Regions from separate parts of the Homo sapiens genome. Here region 1 is linked to region 2. Evidence: promoter capture Hi-C in human tissues and cell types (Jung and others, 2019). All regions are on one chromosome and are shown on one strand. The core of a region is centred on a gene start or on the middle of the fragment in contact, and the rest is flanking DNA. Distances in the headings are between cores, read along the strand shown. Region 1 holds the start of LOC124904905 (a long non-coding RNA gene). Region 2 holds the start of L3MBTL1 (L3MBTL histone methyl-lysine binding protein 1).

What was found. Contacts are between HindIII fragments. The study calls those that stand out against the background at their distance.
Region 1: a fragment that was not itself captured here is called in contact with the fragment with the promoter of L3MBTL1 in region 2 in 1 of the 25 tissues and cell types used here (dorsolateral prefrontal cortex).

What each region holds. Positions count from the first base shown.
Region 1 is chr20:41,691,286-41,698,124 of GRCh38, reverse strand. LOC124904905 (a long non-coding RNA gene) reads left to right here and starts at 3,950. Exons shown (of 2, transcript XR_007067588.1): 1 at 3,950-4,789; 2 at 5,057-5,590. RefSeq lists enhancers at 4,126-4,365, 4,586-4,805, 4,946-5,155. The HindIII fragment of the contact is 3,648 bases long and covers 319-3,966 here.
Region 2 is chr20:43,505,808-43,512,257 of GRCh38, reverse strand. It overlaps L3MBTL1 (L3MBTL histone methyl-lysine binding protein 1), which reads right to left and starts at 4,561. Exons shown (of 22, transcript NM_001377303.1): 1 at 4,514-4,561. RefSeq lists a silencer at 4,351-4,680. The HindIII fragment of the contact is 9,495 bases long and covers 1,381-6,450 here.

The DNA of each region.
Region 1 (6,839 bases), core at 893-3,392, 1.8 Mb after region 2:
TCTCCAGCTACCTCAACTTTTTGTCTTATCCTTTTGTATATTTTGTACTTTTGTAATTCCCCTCAAAGCTTTTGTGGATTGAGATGGAGTTTAAATACACAATAAAATTAGTTTTTGCCCAAAAGACTGATGACCTGCATGTGCCATCTAGTGGTGAGAGAGACAACTGCCAGAATAGAAACCTCCCTGATTTTTCAGATGTGTTTTAGATGGGAGAGTGGTGAGTAGTGGGCAAGGGAAGAGGAGGGAGACCGGGCCCCCTCTGTGTGCTTTGTCAGGAAATTGAAACTGCTGAGGATTAAAGAGCCTCTAGGCAGGGCCAAGGAGCAGGTGATTCAATGGCTGGAAATGAAGATGATTTATCAGAATCTGAAGAAACAATCAAAAAATAGTGAAGAATGAGGAAGGCACTGGAAGTGGAAGGGTTAAGAAAAAAAACTGTTAGTAAAAGTAAACAATGAAAATGGACCTAATTGAAGCAAGTAATCACTTGAAAGGTGCTTAATGTAGGTTGATCACAGATGTGACCAGCCATTTTTTAAACATTCACATTAACTGTAGAAAGAAGCTTAGAGTCCAATGTTTTTATTTTACTTGAGAGAAAACTGGGGCACAGAAGCATTGAGCATCTTGTTCAAGGTCATACAGCCTATGAGCCCCAGGTCCAGGGTAACTCCTAGATCAGTCCTCTTTCCCCAGCACCACCCTACTCCTAACTGTATATAGCAGATGCTCATTTGGGCTTTCATTTTGCACACAGGGTTTCACAAGAAAAATGAGGTCATTACATAAAAATGCTGGATCCAGCATATTTTCAATGAATTATTACTAGCTGGTTTTGTAGCTACCCCCCTGACCTACCCCCAAAATGTCAGGGTGGTGGTTCAAAGCACTGGCTTCGTTAATCTTCACCATGTGGCAAGTCATCAGTTCACAATGATAGAGAAGGATTCCAGAAGCCAATGGCAGTAGGTGAGGGAGCCCCAATCTGGGGAAGAGAAAGTAAATTCACTCATCTACCATGTTAACCTAGCATCTGCTCTGGGCCAAGTTCTAGGCAGTTTGCTGGGGTGGCAATATCAACAATGCACTGGCCATGTCTGGAGCTATACGTATCCCATCTCCCTGTACCCTGACCTGTGTTCTTGGACACAACTTCAGCTAAAACTGAGGCATAGCTTGGATCTGGAGGGCCCTTGAAGACCTAGCCCAGGGATCTGTAGTCTCAAGTTGAATGTCTTGGAAACAGCCTGAAGTCAGGAACCAATGAGGGGGCTGGAGATACTGTCTAAAAAGGAACTTGAGACATTCCCATACTGGAAAGCACAAATATGGAACATTTTACTCATCTGAAAGAGTTCTATTAAACAGCACTGGCCAAGAGTGCCCTTTCCTGGATTTTCTGCTCCTCTGAGTCCTACCAGTTCTCCTAAGCCCTTCAGCAGCTGATATCAGCAGAGACTGATATGAGTCACTGATTCCTGGAAAAGACAGAACTCTGGTACAATGGCTGTTCCAAGTTGATGTCCTCAGAGGTACAAATGACACACCAGAGACAGAAGTTGTTTCTTAAACTTTCCGGGCTTCTGTGCTAGTAACGGGTGCCAGATGGGGCAAAAAGAACAGAAGGAATATTGAGGGGCTCAACCTTTGAGATCAGAAAGACCCAATTTCCTACCGAGGTTCTCCATTACTAGTTGGGTAATCTTTAGGCAGAGCCTTTGGGCACCAGTTTTCTTAGCAGCAAAAACTGAGAACTATGATTGTCACAAAGATTAAATGAGACAGTGGATGAGACAGTATCTGGCTCATGGGTAAGTGTAGATTTTTTACTCATCTCTTCTTGCGTCCTTTTGGATGCTAATTTCCACTCTGCCAAGGATAAGAACCACATGTCACCTTCTCATCAGGTGACAAGTGGAGGCTAGTCATGGCTAGCTGTTCCACTCATTCTCTTAATGAATATTTGTTATGAAAACAGCAATGGCCAGGTGTGGTGGCTCACATCTGTAATCCCAGCACTTTGGGTCACCTGAGTTCAGGAGTTTGAGACCAGCCTGACCAACATGGTGAAACCCCATCTCTACTAAATACAAAAAATTAGCTGGGCGTGGTAGCGCATGCCTGTAATCCAGCTACTTGGGAGGCTGAGGCAGGAGAATCACTTGAACCCGGGAGGCGGAGGTTGCAGTGAGCCGACATTGCACTGGACTCCAGCCTGGGCGACAGAGCAAGAATCCGTCTCAAAAAAAAAAAAAAAGAAAAGAAAGAAAGAAAAGAGCAACTGCCAGGCCTTGTGTTCTGCATCATACAAAGATAGAAAACACATCCCCAAGAGGAGGAGCTCACTGTCTCTTGGGAAAGACTGGTAGGCAAACCAGTAGTTACACAGCAGGGGGACAAGAAGTGAATTGAGAGTGCACAAGGAGAGCACAGAGGTGATGATATTTCAGCCAAGACAAAGTGTGAATAGAAGTTTGCCTGATCAGCAAGCACATAGGAGAGGGCATGCCAAGCAGAGATAACAGAACTTGCAAAAAAGGAAGACTGGAAAGTGAGGTAAATCCAATTACGAAGGTCTCTGAGCACTGTGCTGAGGAGTTTGAGCTAAAACTTGTAGGGGACACAAAGCCTCTAAAGGAAAGTCAAGTCATCATATTTGAGTACTGAAAATATTCCTATACTGCCAGTGTGGATATGGTTTAGAAGAGGCAAGACTAGGCTGGGTGCAGTGGCTCACACCTGTAATCCCAGCACTTTGGGAGGCCCGGCGGGTGGATCACCTGAGGTCAAGAGTTTGAGACCAGCCTGACCAACATGGAGAAACCCCGTCTCTACTAAAAATACAAAATTAGCCGGACGTGGTGGCGCATGCCTATAATCCCAGCTACTCATGAGGCTGAGGCAGGAGAATCGCTTGAACCTGGGAGGTGGAGGTTGCGGTGAGCCAAGATTGTGCCACTACACTCCAGCCTGGGCAACAAGAGTGAAACTCTGTCTCAAAAAAAAGAAAAGAAAAGAAGAGGCAAGACTGGTAAAAGGAAAGCCAGTCTCAATTTGTTCCACTCTCCCCTACTTCACTGTGTTCCAATCACAAGGGACTTCTCTGAGTTCCTTGAATTGCAAAACACCAAGCTCTTCCCCGCTCAGAGCCTTTGCACTTGCTGATCCCTCTGCCTGGACTACTCTTCTCTTGGCTGTTACACAGCTTCCTTCTTCTCAGCCTTCTTCAAGCATTTCAGACCAAACATTTCTTTCTTTCCCTAATCAATCTAATGTATCAATTTTCCTCCATTATTCTCTCTTGTAGCATCCTGGGGGTGGGGGTGTTCTATTTATCGCAATTTGACATTTTATTCTTATTTGTATTATGTGATCAGTAACTGTCTTCCCCATTAGGCTGTAAACACCATGAAGGTAAGGTTGTGTCTGCCCCTGTTCAACACCATGTCCCAGCACTCAACACACTGCCTGGCACGGTGCTAACACTCAATAAACACCGGATTTATGAGACTGTGAGTACAGCCGAGATGATCATGGCTTAACCAAGTAAGTAGCAGCAAACCTGGGAAAAAGAAACTAATGCTACACGAAGTAAACAGGATAGGTCTTGAGGCAGAATATGGCCTGGAGGCAGGGAACTTAAGGACTTGCTAGAATTAAATCAAATGAAACACTTCAGCTATGATAAGACACATCCTTTTTATTTATTTATTTATTATTTATTTGAGTCTTGTTCTGTCGCCCAGGCTGGAGTGCAACGGCGCGATCTCGGCTCACTGTGACCTCTGCCCGGTTCAAGTGATTCTCCTGCCTCAGCCACCAGGGGATTACAGGCGCATGCCACCACGCCCAGCTAATTTATTTTTATTTTTATTTTTAGTAGAGATGGGGTTTCACCATGCTGACCAGGCTGGTCTCGAATTCCTGACCTCAGGTGATCCGCCCGCCTTGGCCTCCCAAAGTGCTGGGATTACAGGTGTAAGCCACAACTCCCCGCCGAAATATCCTCTTTATTTACATAGGGCATACAATGCCTTTGTAACTTTTAACCTATTCATTTACATAAGGCATACACCAACTAACCAATGGAAACCTCTAGAGGGTATTTAACCCCCAGAAAATTCTATAACAGCGCTCGTGAGCCCCCATGCTCAGCCTGCTCCCACCCTGTGAAATGTACTTTCGTTTTCAATAAATCTCTGCTTTTGTTACTTCATTATTCCCTTGCTTTGTTTGTGCCGTTTTGTCCAATTATTTGTTCAAGACACCAAGAACCTGAACACCCTCCACTGGTAACAGTTTGAGACAAGTATCAGAATCAGTTCCACCTGTACCAAGTTCTAACGGCACTTCTAGCTGTATAGCCTGGGCAGGTCAACCACCTTTTATCCACCATGCTCTCCGTATTCCCCTCGTAAAATGATAACGACACCCTTGCAGCTTGGCTCAGCGAATGTCCTCAAACGCACAAACAACGCTAGGGCTAAATGAGCACACCCGGTAGAGCAGCAGCCGCTCCTCGAGGGCGGAAGTCACAGCCTGATCTAAGTACGGTGGGTAAAATGGATCCCCCATATGCGCAGCGCCATGGTCCTTTGTAACCTCATAAAGTGTCCGATGAGCAGCAGGGGCTGGAGGATAATTTAGGGCCAATATCATTTGTTTCTTTTACATTATTTCGCCATTTCTCAGAATTCTAAAATTTGTTTAATTGAAATATCAGCTTGAGGGATGCTGAAAACTGTACAGAGTAAAAGAAGAATCTCTGCTGAGGGATAACCAAGAGGTAGAGATGGGAAAACGTTCATGCGCAGCACCCCCTGACGGAAGGGAGGAGCTGGTGTGGAAGATCCGCGCAGCCCCGCCTCTTTCGCGGTGGTTCCAGTCCCACTTGGGACCCCCACGCCCCGGGAGTGCTAGCGGGACTCGGAGACCTTCACGTTACTACATTGCCCAGGGGACCCCGAGGCGGGCCTGGTTCTCCTCACAAAGGGAGGGGCCGAGCCGTGACTCGCTTCCTCGCCTCGAAATGCGGGTTGTTTTAATCGAGCAGGTTTCGCCCTTCCCCATCAGCCTGTGAAGCTCCCAAAAACGTCCGGCCAACGGCACCAGTCCCATCTAATCAGCCAGGAGGAAGTAGGCGCCGCAAAGCCCCCTGCGAAATGTAGTTTCCAGGAAGACTTCTGGGAAACAGAGTCCGAGGCAGGCGACAGAGCGCTCTTGCAGCCAAATAGAGCCGGGCTAGGGGCGCGTCACGTGACCTGTGCAGCCAACTGTTCCGAGACGTGGCCTTTGCCTGAGCTGCTGTTAGGAGAGGTGCTCAGGTCTGGGGAGTAGCTCCTACCATCGCCTGGACTCGACTTCTGGACTGGCCTCCAAAAGTCGACACAGCCCCTGCGTCTTTCCTATTCCCCAAACCGGCGCTGACCTCATATTTGCATACACTGAAACTTGTGGCTCTCCTTGACTTGGGTTGGTAGGCTCTATAGGACCTCACCATGTTCTCTTACCCATGGTTTCTGCAGCAGCCAAAATGATCCATTCCATGTGCTTTAGAGCCTTAGGGAATAAACCATTAATCAAGTCATTTGATTGCCTCATCTTTGAGGACATTTTTCACTACCTGTTCACACTCCTTGTGCTCACCCATGACTGTCCCTCAGAAACTTAAGTCCTGGGACCCTTCTGCATTCTATTAGTCTTCTCCTAGTTTCATTTCTTCTCCTAGCCAACTTAGATCCTAAGAATCCTCTCCTGCCTTATTTCCTTCTGTAACAACCTCAAATCCTGAATTAATACAGTTGTCTAATTTTGGGTCTACTAGGTGCAACTGGAGGGGAGGAATACATCTCCTAAGCTCACAGGTTGGTGCCACTAAAATCAAGGTTTCAGACTTCAACTAAGCCCTAAATACAACCAGCTGGTTGCAGCACTGTGGGGAAGGAGGCTAACCAATAGAGGAAAGGGATTCGCTGCCAAGAGTCCTGGTGGAAATACAAGGCTTTGGAAGGACTATCTTTATTGCCTCCCACCTCACCCCTACACTTCATGTTTGTACTAGAATGGCATGAGAATGAAATGTAGAACTGATGCAGGCAAACCCAAAAACTGGGGCTCAGCTTGGGAGGGTTCTTGGCTTCAACCAGGAAAGAATTCAAGAGTGAGCCAACAGTAAAAGAAAGCAAGTTTATTTGAGCAACATGTACAGGAAAATGGCTGCTCCGTAGACAGAGCAGAGCTATCCCATAGGCAGAGTGGCACTCATGGACTAGCTATCTTTATATTCACTCTTAGTTATATGCTTAATAAGGAACAGGTTATTCACAAACTTTCTAGAAAAGGGGCAGGGAGCTCCTGGAACCATATAAAGTAACTTCAAGATGTTGCCATGGAATTTGTAAAGTGTCATGCACTTGTGGGAGTGTCTTTGTGCGAATGTAGTAAAACTCCTAGTCCTAGCTGGTTTGGGCTGGTTTATTTGCTACATCCTGTCCTGATCAGCAGGGTTATGACCAGTGCTCAGAAAACAAGCCCTGCTGATCTGCTACCTCATTACCCTTTCAGAGATTATATACTCCTCTTTAATCGTAAAGTGTTGTAGAAGGATGGAGGTCCATCCTCTGTCACTGCCTCCTACTGATTTTGTGGGCATAGTGTCCTCCTCTTGTGCCTGTGGGGACTTATGAGAAACAGGTTTAATTCTGGACAAGTGTACCCATCTAGTGACTCCCTGAAGTTTAACAGCAGTGGGGATGCTTAACAATGCCTGGTAGGGTACCTTCCATTTTGGTTATAATTGATCCTCGTGGGATCCTTCTTCCCAAGTTTTTAATAGG
Region 2 (6,450 bases), core at 3,312-5,811:
CATTGCTGCCATGCTAGTCCCAGCCAACATCAGCTCTCTTTGGACTTCTGAAATTGCCTTCTAACCCATCTCCCTGCTTCCTTTCCTGCACCCCTACAGTCTACTCTCCAGTCGAAAAAGCTTTAAAAACATAAACCAAATCACATAATTTCCCTATCTAAATTCTTCAGTGGCTCTCTATTGCCCTTACAGTAAAATCAAAGCACTTTGCCCTAGAAAATCTGACCTCTGCTTTTCCCTCTGGCCTCATCCTCCACCACTCTTCCCCTGTTCTCTCCACTCAACAGACTCTGGTTTCCTTCTATTGCTTGACCAACATTCCCACTCACAGCCTTTGCCCTTGCTGTTCCCTCCCTCTGGAATGCTCTTCCCCAAGCTCTCTGCTTGACTGGCTCCTTCCCATCCTCCAGGCCTTAACTCAATAGTCACCTCCTCAGAAGAGGTCTTTCTTTACCAATTTTTTTTTTTTTTTTTTTTGAGATGGAGTCTCGCTCTGTTGCCCAGGCTAGAGTGCAGTGGTGCCATCTCGGCTGACTGCAACCTCTGCCTCCCAGGTTCAAGCAATTCTCCTACCTCAGCCTCCTGACTAGGTGGGATTACAGGCACATACCACATAGCCTGGCTATTTTTTGTATTTTTAGTAGAGACGGGGTTTCACCATGTTGCCAGGCTGGACTGGAACTCCTGACCTCAGGTGATCCGCCCACCTCGGCCTCCCAAAGTGCTGGGTTTATAGGCGTGAGCCATCGAGTCCGGCCTGACCAAGGAATTTAAAGCAGCAGCACACCCCTCACCCCATCCCACCACTATCTGTCTCATTACTATTATATATTTCTTTCTTTCTCATCCTTCATTATAATCAATAGTGATCTTCAATTATTTATTTCTGTGTTTGATCAGTCATCTCCACATAAATGCTGACCGTCTGTCTTATTCATTGCTGTATCCCCAACACTTAGTACCTGGCACATAGTAGGTGCTTAATAAGTCCTTGTGTTGGATTTCAGTAACTTGAACTTGTTAATAAAAAACAGTGTATGGGGCCGGCTTGGTGCCATGTGCCTGTAATCCCAGCTACTGGGGAGGCTGAGGCAGGAGAATCGCTTGAACCCGGGAGGTGGAGGGTAGAGGTTGCAGTGAGCCGAGATCGTCCCACTGTACTCCAGCCTGGGAGACAGAGCAAGACTCCATCTCAAAAACCAAAAACCAAAACCAAAACAAAAAAACACTGTATGGGCCCAATGCAGTGGCTCACACCTGTAATCCCAGTACTCTGGAGGCTGAGGTGGGAGGACTGCTTGAGCCCAAGAGTTCAAGACCAGCCTAGGCAACACAGGGAGACTCTGTCTCTATAAAAAATTAAAAAATAAAAATAAGCCAGGTGTTGCAGTATATGCCTGTAGTCCCAACTACTCCAGAGGCTGAGGCAGGAGGATTGCTTGAGCCCGGGAGGTCAAGGCTGCAGTGAGCCATGATCTCACCACTGTACTCCGGTCTAGGTGACAGAGCGAGACCCTGTCTCTAAAGAAAAAAAAAAAATTAGCTGGGCGCAGTGGCTCACGCCTCTAATCCCAGCACTTTGGGAAGCCGAGGTGGGTAGATCACCTGAGGTCAGGAGTTCAAGACCAGTCTGACCAACATGGTGAAACCCCATTGCTACTAAAAACACAAAAAAATAAAAAAAAAATAGCCAGGTGTGGTGGCAGGCGCCTGTAATCCCAGCTATTTGGGAGGCTGAGGCAGGAGAATTGCTTGAACCCAGGAGGTGGAGGTTGCGGTAAGCCAAGATCATGCCACTGCACTCCAGCCTGGGCAACAGAATAAGACTCCACCTCAAAAAAAAAAAAAAAAGAAAGAAAGAAAGAAAGAAAATTATAAAACATAATTCCCTGAATTTCAATTCCAATTTGCTTTGCACAGCTGAAGTACTTGTACTATTTTAAATACCTTTAGAGTTAGGCTGGACGTGGTGGCTCACGCCTATAATCCCAGCACTTTGGGAGGCCAAGGTGGGTGGATCGCTTTGAGCTCAGGAGTTGGAGACCAGCCTGGGCAACATGGTGAAACCCCATCTCTACAAAAAGTACAAAAGTTAGCCAGGCAGGCCATGCGTGGTGGCTCACACCTGTAATCCCAACACTTTGGGAGGCCAATCACTTGAGGCCAGGAGTTCAAAACCAGCCTGGACAACATGTTGAAACTCCATCTCTACCAAAAGTACAAAAATTTAGCTGGGCATGGTGGCACACGCCTGTTATCCCAGCTACTCAGGAGGCTGAGGCAGGAGAATCCCTTGAACCCAGGAGGTGGAGGTTGCAGTGAGCCAAGATCGCGCCACTGCACTCCAGCCTGAGTGACAAAATGAGACCCTGTCTCAATAAATAAATAAATAAATAGAGTTAATCTTTTTATTTGAAACACTGGCAGTTAAGAGTGAATGTGGTTACTTCTGAAAGAATTTCACTCTGTGTCAAAACCTGTCACATCTCAGGTCTATTGAAGAAGCTGGATTTGAAGACTACGTTTCTGTTTGGGTTCGCTGCCTCTTTTCCAGCAAGCATGGGAGGACCAAGTAGGTGTCACCACCATTCTGTGCTCTGGGGTTACAGTCACAAACATGACAAAATGCTCTCATGAAGCTTATATTCTGGAGATAATGGATGAGGTTGGGGCTGGAGGTATAAATTTGAAGACCAGCATGTGTAGATGGCATTTAAAACCACAGAACTGGGGCGAGGCCTGGTGGCTCATGCCTGTAATCCTAGCACTTTGGGAGGCCAAGGTGGGAGGATCACTTGAGCCCAGGAGTTTGAGACCAGCATGGCCAACATAGTGAGGCCTCAGCCTCAACAAAAGATTTTAAAAATTAGCTGAACATGGTGGTGCACCCCTGTGGTCCCAGCTACTGGGGAGGCTGAGGTGGGAGGGTTGCTTGAGCCTGGGAGGTAAAGGCTGCAGTGAGCTATGATCACACCACTACACTCGAGCCTGGGCGACAGAGCAAGACCCTGTCAGAGAGAAAGGGGAGGGGAGGGGAGGAAGGAAGGAAGGAGAGAGAGAGAAAGAAAGAAAAAAGAAAAAACCACATAACTGAGTATAAAGAAAAAAGTGGGAACTTTGGAGCACACCCACATTTATAGGTTGGGAAGAGGAAAAGGGTCTAGCAAAAGGGACTGAGAAGGAGTCTGCCATGAAGTGAGGGGGGACTCAGAAGAGTCTGGGTTTCTGGTGGACACTGAAGAAAGTTTTCAGCCTTCTGCCGTCAGCCTCTCTTGGAACTGCTCTGAGCCTAGGGAGCTACCTCACTTGAAGGCTCTCCTAGAAGCCGCCAGCCAATGACGAGTTGCTATGAGGTGTAAAGACCCCACCCCCTTGCCTTACTTTGGAACACCTCTGCAGGGCCATCTCAGTTCCAGAGCTTCCATTAGGTCAGGCTGAGGCCTCTGTTGAGACTACATCAGCAGTTCAGCTTCTTCTTCCGCCCAACCCGTCATTCCCCTACTGGTGATATTCGCAAGAGCACTCCGATAAACCTACACTCAAATCTTGCTATCGGAGTCTGTTTCGGGGGACCCGACCTAAAACAACCATTGTAGCCCCAGCCCAGAGCCGTGCACATAGCAGATGCTCAATAAATATCTGTTGGCTGAATGTGTCCATGGGTATTTTCTCTTGATGTCTGACAAGGTTTTCTCAATCCCTTGCCTTCCAAGGCCTTGTATACAAAAACGACCAATAAATGTCCTTACTATAGGTGTTGGGTGGGGAGTAGAGCCCTCGACAGCTACCCAGAAAACAACACACAGCAAGGCTGAGCGCTACAAACTTGGGGCCTCGGCCCCGCCCCTCGCCGCAGCTGCTTCCCGGACTCGGGAGGGGACGGAAGCGGCCCTGAGCGCAGGGTTCCAGGATCGGGACCCGCCACCAGCCTCCCGGGACTGGTATAGGCAAAGGCGGGCGGGGCGGTCACTGATCCGACAGTTCCGCAGAACGGTTACTTTTTAAAACGCTAAAATGGCGGAATTCTTTTTATTCTTTCTCTTTATGGCCAAAAAAAAAAAAAGAGAGAGAAACAAAAAAAATTCCATATTCCATTATAAAAATCCAAAATTAATGGTAGGAAAGTTTGCCAAATGACTCATTCATTTCCCAAGAAAACCAAAACCCCGCCCTCCACACCTTTCCATTAATAAAAAAACTCTTAATTGATTGCGTATCTCCAAACACGCAGCCTCCACCCTCCTCGCCCCTCCTGATCGCAGCCCGAAGCCACGCCGCAGGGTCGGCTGGGCCTGGAGTCCCGCACCCGCCTGGCCCCCTGCGCGCTCCGCCCAGACCGCTTTCCCCGGCGTTTTCCCGAACCTCCTCCCCAGCCCGCGCCCCCCGCCGGAGGCGCTCGGAAGGAGCGAGACGCCGGGGCCGCAGACCTGAGCCCTCGCCGCCCTGGACGGAGCGGGGTGGCGCGGCGCCCAGGGGACGCAAGGTCTGAGCCCACGCACCGCTGGTTGCTTACCTGCCTGGCCAGCCGGTGGCCGCCCAGCGCCTAGCTACGGTCCGAGCCGGGCGCCGCGCGCCTGCGCGTTCGGGGGGCGGGTCCGCCTCCCTGCAGGACGCAGAGCGCGGGGCCCGAGCGCCGGGCACATCTGCCCGGCCCAGGCGCAGGCCCAGGCTTCTGTGGCGCCCGCGCCCTCTTGCCTGCCTTCGAGGCCCTGGTTGTGCGCGCCTCATGCCCCCTCAACCTAGGACAGGTTTGCCGCACGGGCGTGGCGGGTCGAGATTTTTCCTGCCCCCGAACCCCTGCATCACAGCTAGCAGAGCGCAGCGGGGGCGCAGGGACCGCGGAGCTCGAAGAGAGAGCCTGGAGGGCTACCGAGCTGAGTGGTTAGTGACAAAAGACGAGGCTGCACCCAGGCATGCACCCCAGCCGAGTGTCTGCTCTGTCCAACGCCTTCCCACCGCGCCTGCCCTCACCCTGGAGGGGAGCTCAGGAGCGTCAGAAAACGGCCTCAGGAAGGGTGAAGGGCACGTGCGACCGGAGAGAGGAACCCTCGTGCGGGGACTCTGGTCCTGGCCCTGCCGGGCATAAAGAGCGGCATTAGCCGCGTCTACTTTTGGGTGACCCCACTGCGAAGGGCTGGGTAACATCAGTATCCCCCAGGTCCTCCATTTCGACATTGGTAAAGACTATCACCCACTTCATGGCGTATGGTCGTTTTCAGTTTGGGTTCCTGTGGTGGTGTAGCAATCACTGCCCCTCTCTGCTTCACTTTGACTGATCTCTTCGCCTCCACCTGATCTCTCTAATTAATCAAATCTCCTTGTTATTGGTTCTGGTAACACAAGATACCTGTCTCGCTTACACATACCACAGCTGGCACTTCACATAGATTTGAGTAATTCCAGAGGCTAAGAGGTTTCAAGCTCCAAGAGGGTAGGAAATATTAGTTTTTGTATTCCTAGTACCTAGCCCAGAGCGGGGCACAGAGTGGGTGCTTAATAAATATCTGTTGAGTGACTAAATGATGTAGGGTATGCAGATGAAAACAGGGTAACTTTTGGTACAGTCCACCATCCAGCCCCTCTCCCACACCAATGATTTAATTTAATCCCTTGATTTTACTTGGCCTTAAGTCATGGCCACATGTCAGACCACCAGGCTCCTGATTCCCTCCCAGGCCAGATGAGAAAAGGGTTCCTAATGAAATGTAGGCAAATTCTCCAAATTGCTGTGATCGACAGGTTTAAATTTATGCAGAATTTAACTATTCCGGTTGCCACGCCAACGCATTGCATGTGTTCTTCCTTGCTGCAATGTCAATTTTTAATCACATCTCATATTATTGGGAACAGGATTGCATCAGTTAAGGATGCTGGTTGCCATAACGATGGATGCCTTTTTCTACACATTGATACATACACAACCATCCGCTCAGTATTCTCTCATCTCAACCTAGACTGTGCGTGATCTAGATTTCAAAGGTTTATTTTAGGTATTCAGAAGATTAAAAGAAAGTGGTGAACCTACACAAACACATGGATTCTCAAAAACAAAGGCATCTTTTAGATGGTGATTAAGACGGATAAGTGGAATTTGAGCTAGCAAGACCTAGAAACAAACAACTAACATGGATGTGAGTTGCTAAGACATTATTTTTCTGGCTATCGACAGTATTTTTGTGCCTCACGCCTGTAATCCCGGCACTTTGGGAGGCTGAGGTGGGAGGATTGCTTGAGCCCAGGAGTTTGAGACCAGCCTGGGCAACATGGCAAAATCCTGTCTCTACAAAAAAAAAAAAAAAAAAATTAGCTGGGTGTGGTGGCGCATAACTGTAGTCCTCCCTAGCTACTAGGGAGGCTGAGGTGAGAGGGTCGCTTGAGTCCAGGAGCTCAAGGCTGAAGTGGGCCATGAGTGAGCCACTGCACTCCAGCCTGGGCAACAGAGAGAAATCC